Linked DNA regions of Homo sapiens: region 2 is linked to region 1. Evidence: promoter capture Hi-C in 16 types of primary human blood cells and fetal thymus (Javierre and others, 2016). All regions are on one chromosome and are shown on one strand. The core of a region is centred on a gene start or on the middle of the fragment in contact, and the rest is flanking DNA. Distances in the headings are between cores, read along the strand shown. Region 1 holds the start of GNAQ (G protein subunit alpha q). Region 2 overlaps GNAQ (G protein subunit alpha q).

What was found. The method cuts DNA at HindIII sites, captures the fragments that hold promoters and counts their contacts. A CHiCAGO score of 5 or more calls a contact.
Region 2: a contact is called between a fragment that was not itself captured here and the fragment with the promoter of GNAQ in region 1, in 11 of 17 cell types (megakaryocytes, erythroblasts, naive CD4 T cells and 8 more). The highest score is 10.5, in megakaryocytes.

The regions. Positions count from the first base shown.
Region 1 is chr9:78,029,786-78,034,653 of GRCh38, forward strand. GNAQ (G protein subunit alpha q) reads right to left here and starts at 2,026. Exons shown (of 7, transcript NM_002072.5): 1 at 1,315-2,026. The coding sequence starts at 1,450. RefSeq lists an enhancer at 1,215-2,109. The HindIII fragment of the contact is 11,535 bases long and covers 1-3,972 here.
Region 2 is chr9:77,897,258-77,902,125 of GRCh38, forward strand. All of the region lies in intron 2 of GNAQ (G protein subunit alpha q), which reads right to left. LOC107987081 (a long non-coding RNA gene) reads right to left here. Exons shown (of 2, transcript XR_001746758.3): 2 at 1-4,868. Among named protein-coding and RNA genes, the nearest start is that of GNAQ, 130 kb to the right of the region's middle. The HindIII fragment of the contact is 441 bases long and covers 2,646-3,086 here.

The DNA of each region.
Region 1 (4,868 bases), core at 776-3,275:
CACAAACACCAACTAACAGTACAATATTCTTTTCTTACAGAAATGTTTGAGAAACACATTTATTATACATGCAAATACCCAGAACACAAGTGCAGACATTTTTCAGGCCCGTTACTGCAAAGCTGTTTGCTCTTCCTGCCACAGTAGCTCAGGGTTCTGTCACTGTGGCTTGTATATGAACCCTGATCGCTTGATTCTGAACATCCTCCCAGAGATAATCATCAATAAATTTCTATTTGAGAAATGGCATTTTCTTGCTAACTTAGTGTTGAAGCAGAATTTTTTTTTCAAGACTAGAGGGAAATTTTTCCTGTATGCTTCCCGTTTTTCCTTCTCGCCCAGATTCCAAAGACATTAAAATGCTATCTGTTTTAAACAAAAGGTTTCTATTTGTTGCCAAGAGAGTAACTGAGAGACTGCACTGGTTTTCGGTAGTAACTATTGTGAACTGAGGCCTACATCTAGGTTGCCTCATTAAACAAAAGATACCGGTCGCTGTCAACAACCACACAGCACAACGCTCCCCTACCCTCATCTTTATCTAGAAGGAATGGTGCAGACGAGAATAACGCCTGTCACCATCCACTGGCCAACTCTTCTAGGCTCCCTCCTTTCGATGGTCTGGTGGCTAGAGAACAGCACTTGTGTGACACATTTGGGCTTGCCCTCCCGCCTCGCCCCCAGTACACAGACCCTTTCCTTGGAGGGCCAACCACTTGGCTTCCTCACCATGAGTGCTCCGGGAATCCAGCTGCGAGTCTGCCCACCGTTCCCCCATTCCCTCCTGACCCCATAGGGCACTGATAATGGATGCACACCGGCCACTCCACCGCAGGCCATCCCCCAACGTGCCCCGGCTCCGCTCGCCACCCGCTGGGCCACACACACGGCTCCCCACGCCACCACCCCATGGGGTGCCGCGGCCACGACACTGGAAGTTCAACCCCTCTGCCCACCTTTCCACCCCCGCGCCTCTGGTCGGAGTGATCTGCCATTTAGCAGATGCACAGCAGATAAGGTACAGCCCTCAGGGACACGAAAAGGAACAAGCCAAGGCACCGGGCAGGGCAGCCCCGACCCCTGTGCTGCGTGTGTGTGTCGCTGTGTGTGTGTGTGTGTGTGTGTGTGTGTGTGTCTGTGTGTAACGCGCCCGCGCGCCCGCGCGGGTGAAGGCAGTGGCCGGGGGCGCGCCCGGGAGGGTAGGGGCGAACCGCGGGCGCCGGGGGGCGGGGGCGCCGAAGGCAGCTGCCCCGCAGGGCCAAGGATGGTGGGCTGGGGGCGCAGAGGCCCGGCGGGGCCCCGGACGGTACTCACCGAGCAGCAGCAGCTTGAGCTCCCGGCGGGCGTCCCGCTTGTCCCTGCGGAGCTGCCGCTCGATCTCGTCGTTGATCCGCCGGGCTTCCTTGGCCTCCTCGCTCAGGCAGCACGCCATGATGGACTCCAGAGTCATTCTTCCAAAGTGCCTCCGCTGCAGCCCCGCCGGCACCCCCTGCTCACAGCGCGCACACACACCCTCCCGCCCTCGCTCCCCCGAGGCAGCGGTGGCCGCCGAGCCCCCGCCGCCCGGGCGCGCGTCCGGGACGAGCTCCGGGAACCGCCGCGGGGGCGGCGGCCAGGGCCGGGGCCACCAGGTGGGCCGGGGGCGCGGTGGGAGCGGATAGTCTGGGCCGACGGGAGAAGAGAGGCGGGCGCGGGAGGCGGGCGCTGGCTCGGGGGGCGCGTGAGAGAAGGCCGCCGCGCCCGGCCTCGCTCAGACGCCCGCGCCTCCTTCCCCGGGAACAGGCGGCCCGCCTCGCCCCCCGAGCCGCCGCCGCCGCCGCCGCCTGCGAGGCTCCCCTACGCCGTGCGCCTGGCGGCGAGAGCTCATTCACCGGGGTGTCCCCGCAGCGAGCGGCCGCCGACGGCTCCCCGCGCCCGGCGCGCCCGCTCCTCGCCGCCGCCTGACACGGCTCCCGGGCGCCCTCGGCCCTGTCCGCGCCCACCGCCCGGCTCGCGCGCAGACCCGGTTCCCGTCCCGCCCGGCAACCGCGCGCTCCTCCGCCTCCGCCTCCGCCCCCGCCCCCGCCAGACGCCCACCCCCTGCCCCGATTGCCAGGCGCGGAGCGGCTGCTCAGTGCGAGCCCTCCCCCTCGCCACACACACACATTTTCTTCTTTCTCTGAACTGGAGCACAGATCCGGGAGGGAGGAGGCGGCGGCGAAAGGAGGAGGAGGAAGAGGCGGAGGGGATGGGCGCGGGAGGAGGGAGCCGGGAGGCGGTGCCGCCCGGCCCCTCCTGGAAGGCTTTCCTGGGCTCGCGGCCGCCGCGGCGCGCCTCCCAGTGCGGCTCTCGCCTCGCCCGCGCGGCTCCCGGGCTGGGCCGGCCCCCGCGGGCTCTGCGGACGCCTACTGCTCCCGCACCCTCGGCAGAGTCCGCGGGCGCAGCAGTCACGGCCGCCCCCGGCCGAAGTCGGGGCCAGACCCGGCCGCCGACGCGCAGCCCGAGCCGGCGGCCGCCGTTGCGTGCCAGGGCCGCAGCCGACCTGCGGCTGCCGTCCGGCCGGGCGTGGTGAGACAGGAATATGGCGGCCTCTGCCTGCCTCAGCCCACCGGCCCGGGAGCGCGGCCGCGGCCCCTGCTGAAGTCGCGGGAGGCGGCCCCGCGGAGCCCCGCACGCGCTCCCTGCGGCGCCGGCGCTGGCGTCCGCCGCTCCCGGGCTGTGCCTGTCTGCTCCACGGGGTCGCTCCTCAGCCGTTTCTGTGTTTCCCGTTCCTATTTCTAAAACGCCATTCGGTTAGAAACTCTCACGTCACCTCTGACACCGGTGCAGTCTTAGAAAATAAGCTCCTCTATACTGTGTGGGGCTACTGGGGAAGGGAAGGGAAGGAATTGGCACCGGTGCCCAGAGGTGTAGGGGGAGATTCACAGGCGAAGCTGTTCGCAAAGTAACGTGAGATAGAAATCTAAATCCTGAACAGAGAAAGGAAGCTGCCCAAGTTTCCAAGAGCCTCCCGATAGGTTCCAACTTTTCATGCCTTTGTTTTTTTGGTGGTTGTTGGTTGTTTTTGTTTTTTTAAGTTGTTTTTGTTTTTGTTTTACAAGTTCTCTTGTTTCTGAGAAGGCACACGATGTTTAGCCGCCGAGTAATCGAATTTACTCTTCTAGACTGAGATTGAATTATGGATGACTTATGGGAAAATGTAAAATAATGTGGAATAAAAGGAAAGGAAAGAATGAAATAGAAGAGAAACTAAGGAGGCCCCAGCAAAACGGCATTCTAGTTTTTTTGATTTGCAATATGTGATTGAGGCAGTAAACTGTCGTATGCACATTTCATTGTGATCGTCTACTGATAAATAGCACACGAAAATAATCTTGTTTAATCAGGCCCAGGAGATGAAACTCATATTGCTTCCTGCCTTAAAGGAACCTGAGGTCTTCAAAGAAAATTGTCTTTTATGAAGAGAACCGCTTTTTCACGTTTCATGTGTTCTCTGAAGTGTCCCTGGTGCAACCTGCTGATCCAGAGTGTAAGGTACGGTCATGACTCTGCTTTTGCTACAGATCAAGAACTCATATAGGGTTCTTAGACAACAGGTGTGTAACTTCCTTCTTTCTTTCATTTGCCATTACTCCACCGTTTCACACACATACACACACTCTAAACCACGATTTAAATCAAGCAAGTCAAGATATAAAATATATATTTTAGGTTCTCTGTTTAAAACCTAGAAAATAATTAAATTTCACCTTGCCCTGGAGAGCAGAGAGGGCAAACCTCAACCCTTTTATGTGAATGCCTACAGAGAACAGCTAGACTTGCTATGAAATTAAAATTTAAAATCAAGTGACTAAAGAAATTAAAGATTGAAATTCAGTATGCAAAAATAGAAAGTGGCTTCAGAAGAAAAAATTTTAAGTTTGCATCCTCCGAATATATGTATGTATATGAGCTTTGGAGAGACACAGAACACTGGAAAACCAAATGACAGAAAGCTTGAAGTCTCTGGTTACCTACCCAGGGATCCTCTGAGACTTTTAAAAATGTCTTTTAAAATGAGCCATCAGGCTATCAGGTAATATGTTTTGACTGAATTGTCCTATTATTTGATGAATTCATCTGTTTCAGCGGGCTATAGAGTCAGAGTCTGTTTTGTCCCCCCTGTATCCCCCCAACATCATGAACACTCCCTGGCAACTTAGATACTTAAATGGATGCAATGAATCAATAGGAGAATGTTTCAAGTATTGGGGAGAAACCAGGAAGTAAGAAAAACCAACACTCTACAGTGATAAAGCCATATATGGGTGTCAAGAAGGAAACAGGAAAAGAAATTCCAAGTCTGAGCCCAGATCTATCCAAAAACCTTTTCATATTATCTGGAGAGCGTTTGCCAAGCAAATATTCCTAGAGACTAAGTCAAACAAATAGAACCCATGCAGAAACAACTGATAGTTGACCATGTTCTACAAGCACATACTCTAAAACATGCAACTAAACAGGGATTATGTTACAAAATCCCAGTTCATTCAGTCAACAAGCATTTATTCATTGCCTACTATGTGTAAATAACAGGTGAAGGTACAGGATAAGAGAGATACTAAAATGAATAAAATACAGTCCTTACCCTCCATAGGCTTATAGTCTTATAATGAGGCTCTAAGCAGCTATAATACAAGACTAAAATCAATTTGTATAAAATTTGGGGTGGAAGTAACAACATAAAGGTATAAAAAGGAAGGGGAGAACTGGAAAAGATACGGCAGGAAAAGGGGCATTGACATGCATGTTAAAGAATGAAAAGGTTTTCAATAAATAGGTACCTACATCACCTCAAAGTAAATGAGCAATTCCAAGTCACCCCACACAGAGAGTAAGATGATAAACCA
Region 2 (4,868 bases), core at 1,616-4,115, 130 kb before region 1:
ATTTTAAAATTATTTATGATGAAGCTCTATTGAATGTTTTGTAATAATAATGAAGTCTTAGTAACATGAATCCTTACTGCAGCAGAGCACAGCTATTAAATCTTTGCTGAGAGCACAATGAGGGAGCCAGGGCTTTTTGTAACCAGCAAGGACTGTCTACAGAAAAAAAAGTGAGAGGTGGCCAACTTCGAAAGGCAAATTCAATTTAATCTCACAGTGAAGCCACCAGGGGCAGCACAATGCTGGAATGGTCTCTGCTTTCATAGGATGCAGCTTCTCCCTGGCCTGCCCTCAGCCGGCTTGCCCTTCAGCACTGGGCTCCTGCCATGGGCTGATGAGCCTCCAAAGCAGGACCTGGGCAAAACTTCGGGTGGGGGTGTCCCCTGAGATTCTCATTAAGACTGTCTCCTTCTTATGCTCCTGGTTTATAGTCTACAAATTGAAACACCAAAAAAACGTATGTTTGAGTGAAGGGAGGCCACTCAGGATCTGAGCAGCTGCTAAGTGCCAAGATGGCCAGGGGCCACAATGTGAGGCTGGAAGGCACTGGGACTTCCCCTGCCCCACTCCCTGCTCCCCCACATCAGTCATTCAAACCCATTATTTTAGTTCAGAAATTACTATTATCAACAACAACAAAAGTTAGTGAACTTTTGTTCACTAACTTTTAAAACACTTTCCCTGGAAAAAAAAAAAAAAAAAAGCAATGCAAGAAATCCTTCATTTAAGATAAAGAAAGTGAATTGTAAGAAGGGCCAAGAAAGCGGGATGACAAAATTTATTCAGAATTATCATATACCCTTAGTCTATGGAAGAGTAATATCTGTAGAAACGATAGAACCACTCTTAATTACCAAGAGGCCAACTGTTCTGTCACTGGATAATCCAGGCTCTTCTCCCTCTTTCTCTACAATCTGAAGTCATTATCCCACATGCTGTGCATTACTGTTACTTAATGCTAATAAAAGGCACAATATATTACCAGCTTGCCATCATCCCTCTCCAATAGCTTTTGGGCTCTTGGGTGACAGTGACTGGGCTTAAATCAACCCAAAGCTTTGACAGAACAGATGCTCAATAAATATCATCTTTAGTTAAAATAATAAAAAGTCTTAGGGAGCCATTCTGTCCCTCCCATCTAGGCTATTGCCTATTCAGAGTATGCTATAGTTTCTCCTACTGTAACACTTACTGCACTGTATTATAAATTGCCCATGGACTTGCTTGTAACCCAGCTAGCAGGTTAGCAATTCAAGAGCAACCTATCTGTTAGTTATAGATGCACTGCTTAGCACAATGCATGGCATATGGGTGCTCCTTAAATATCTGGATTTAATGGATGGATTGATGAATGAATGAATAAATGGATGGATGGATGGATGGATGGATGGACAGATGGAAGAACAAGTGAAAAGAGTAGAGAATACAATTTATAGCAGGAAAAAGTGAGTTTTTTCAAACAAATGGGAAACAAAATAAAAATTGATCCTTGATTCTACAACTCAGAAATAAACTGCTATTAAGAATTTATTATATCCATCTAGTATTTTTTACAACATATACATTTTGAGGTTGTTTCTTTCTTGCATATATTGTTATTAAAACAGGATTACATTATACCTGATAGTTTGCAACTTGCTTTATAAAAGACATAATATATCATGCATTACTTTCTAGATCAGGACATATAGTTCTACTTCAATGTTTATTTCAGCTGAAAAGAATTCCAAAGAGTAGCTGTACTATAATTTACTTCCTTATTGATAGATATTTGGCTTGTTTCCAAATTTTCACTATTATAAACAATGCTGTACCAACCAAATCTCACTCACCCGTTTTTTTGTTTTGTTTTGTTTTGAGACAAGGTCTTGTTCTGTCGCCCAGGCTGGAGTGTTGTAGTGCAATATGGGCTCACTGCAGCCTCCACCTCCCAGGTTCAAGCTATTCTCCTGCCTCAGCCTCCCGAGTAGCTAGGATTACAGGCATGCACCACCACACCCAGCCAATTTTTTTATTTTTAGTAGAGATGGGGTTTCACCATCTTGGCAAGGTTGGTCTCAAACTCCTGGTCACAAGCGATCCACCTGCCTCAGCCTCCCAAAGTGCTGGGACTACAGGCATGAGCTACTGTGTCCGGTCTCATTCACTAATGTGTGCATGTGTTTGTCTGTGTGTGTGTCTGTGTGTGTGTGTACTCTGCTTTTTACCAGGCACTGTTCTAGGGATATAAGAGTGAGTGGATACTATCCCACACTTAATGAGAGACACAGGCATTATTCAAAGAATCACATTAACAAAAAAAAAAATCAAAAAATGGACTACATGACTAGGAAAAAAAAGGAATATAATCATATGAAAGCATCTCATAAAATAATCTGGAAGAATGAAGAGGTGGGTGGCACGTGCAAAGGCAGTGCAGGAGGAAAGACAGCAGAGGTCAGAGGCGAAAGACAGCAGAGGTCAGAGGCAAAAGACCATCTGACTGGACCTCAGAGAACTTGGGCAGAGAATGGCGTCTCTGCACTTTTATGAGTGTTTCAATCACATATTTAACAAATATGTATTAAGCACATATCAAATGCACGGAACTGTGCTAGGTGCTGCTGATTCAGCAAGAACAAAGACATGATCCCTGCCGCCTCAAAAGCTTGCATTCTAGCAGAGCAAATTCTGCAGGGTGGAATTGCTACAGGAAAGACAATATGCCCTTTAAATTTTGTTACCTGCTGCCAACCTGTCCACTCTGGGATGTACTCAGCCCTTCCAGAGTCCACCTGTTCACCAAGTTAACAGAGTACTCAAAGCTATTTCTTGACTCAATCAGGTCTCCTTGGCCTGACACAGTTACTAAGTCAATCAGTAATCCTGGAGTCTTTGAGATATCTAAGACTGCTGAGCTGTTCTCATACTTGTGGTATATGTCTCATACTTGTGGTATACGTCTAAGTTTCAATAAGTAGGAAATTTAGAATGTGGAGGCCAGAGGTATTCCACATTCTAACAGAAACACATGTACGAATAACACAGTCAAAAAAGATCCTTCTGTCACTCCATCAGGAGACACTAAGATATTTTACTGCAATAGAAGCTTATTGCTAAAATGAGATTTAGAGCTCATCTGGAGATTTTAATTATTCATGTTATCAATGTTCTCCATTTTCATGGAAAACTGTGGGATAACTATACGGAATCTCACTACCAGTAAGGCAGGCTGATAATATCTACTTGTGGTTAGATACTGGGTGCACAGACAATTCTTTTATTCATCTCAGGTTCACTCCCGTTCACTAATTCCTAATTATCTACACTCCATGCAGTGGAGATGGGGCCTCGCTATGTTGCCCAGGCTGGACTCCAATTTCTAGGATCAAACTATCCTCCTGCCTCAGCTTCCCAAAGTATTGGGATTACAGGTGTGTGCTACCACACCTGGCTTCTCCATGCAGTTTTTTTCCTTCATGTTTTCCCACAATCCTTACTCCCATTCTCCACTTACTTACCCTTCTTTCTTGGCAGAAGACCGTACCAGTTCAGACAAAATTGACTAGCACTGTCTGTTAAAAGCCGCCTTCTTCTCAAAACCTTAAACTTCACCAATTCTCTGCTTGCTCCCAACAGTTTCAAAGCAATGAGTGTCCTGCTTCTCCATTTCTTTGTATTTTATATTGCTTGTATACTGTCAAATAGTTTCCCTCTTTACCAGCAAATTTCCACTGACCAACAAACACACTCGGTTCTCTCCTGAAGTTAAAGAACCAAACAAGCAAACCAAAATAAAAATACTTGCTTGAATCCTCAAGCTGCCATTTCTCTTCCATGTCCATCCTTTCACTCCGGCTCCTCACTCCTGGTCACGATCTTGCTTCCAGAAAGTACCACACTCTCACACCACCTGTGTAGTACCCGATAGTAGTACCACACTGTCACACTCTCATGCCACCTGTATTCCAAAAACACAAACTCCTATCACATCTGTTTCCTGCCCAAGGGCTCTTGGGCAGCCTCCACAGTGGTTAGAATCAATCTCCAGGATGTGGAATTGGAGGCTCTTTACAATACAATTCCCCTACACCTTTACAGCCTTATCTCTCACCACAAAACCTGGCCCATCTGTGTATTTAGTCCCTAAATTACTCAACTTTCCTGGGACTGTTCCTGTACTTTCTTACTCTCTGCCTTCACTCTGCTCCCACTCTCATTCATCTGTCCAAACCCTCCCATCTTCAAGAGCAGTACAGATACCATCACCTGGCAGAGCCGTCCTGCCTCTTCCTCCTTAGGCCGAGCTGGAGCTACTCTTTCTCTTAGGCTCCCTCAATGTCTTATAAGTGTCTGTGCCCTCACAAAATGGCACATACCTTGGGGGCAGAGAACCTTACTCTCCTCTGCATTCCTCACACAGCTACCCTAGAAATCCTGGTTTGAACGCTACCATCCTATACTTTTACAGTTTCAGTCTAGTTACAGTCTCAGTCCTTCTGGGTTGCTATTTAAAAATTCCATAAACTGGGTGGCTTATAAACAACAAACATTTATTTCTCACAGTCCTGGAGGCTAGGAAGTTCATGATCAAGGCACAGGCACACTCAGTGTCTGCTGAGAGCCAGTTTCTTAATTAATTGATGGCAGCTTCTTGCTGTGTCCTCACTGAGTAGAAGGGAACTAGCTTCCTTCGGCCTATTTTATAGGAGGACTAATCCCCTTCATGAGGGCTCCACCTTCATGACTGAATCACCTCCCAAAGGCCCCGCCTCCCAATACCATCACCTTAGGGGTTAGGATCTCAACATACAAATTTTGATGGGACACACATTCACACCATAACAAGTTACCTAACTCTTCTGAATTTATATTTATCATAAATAGGG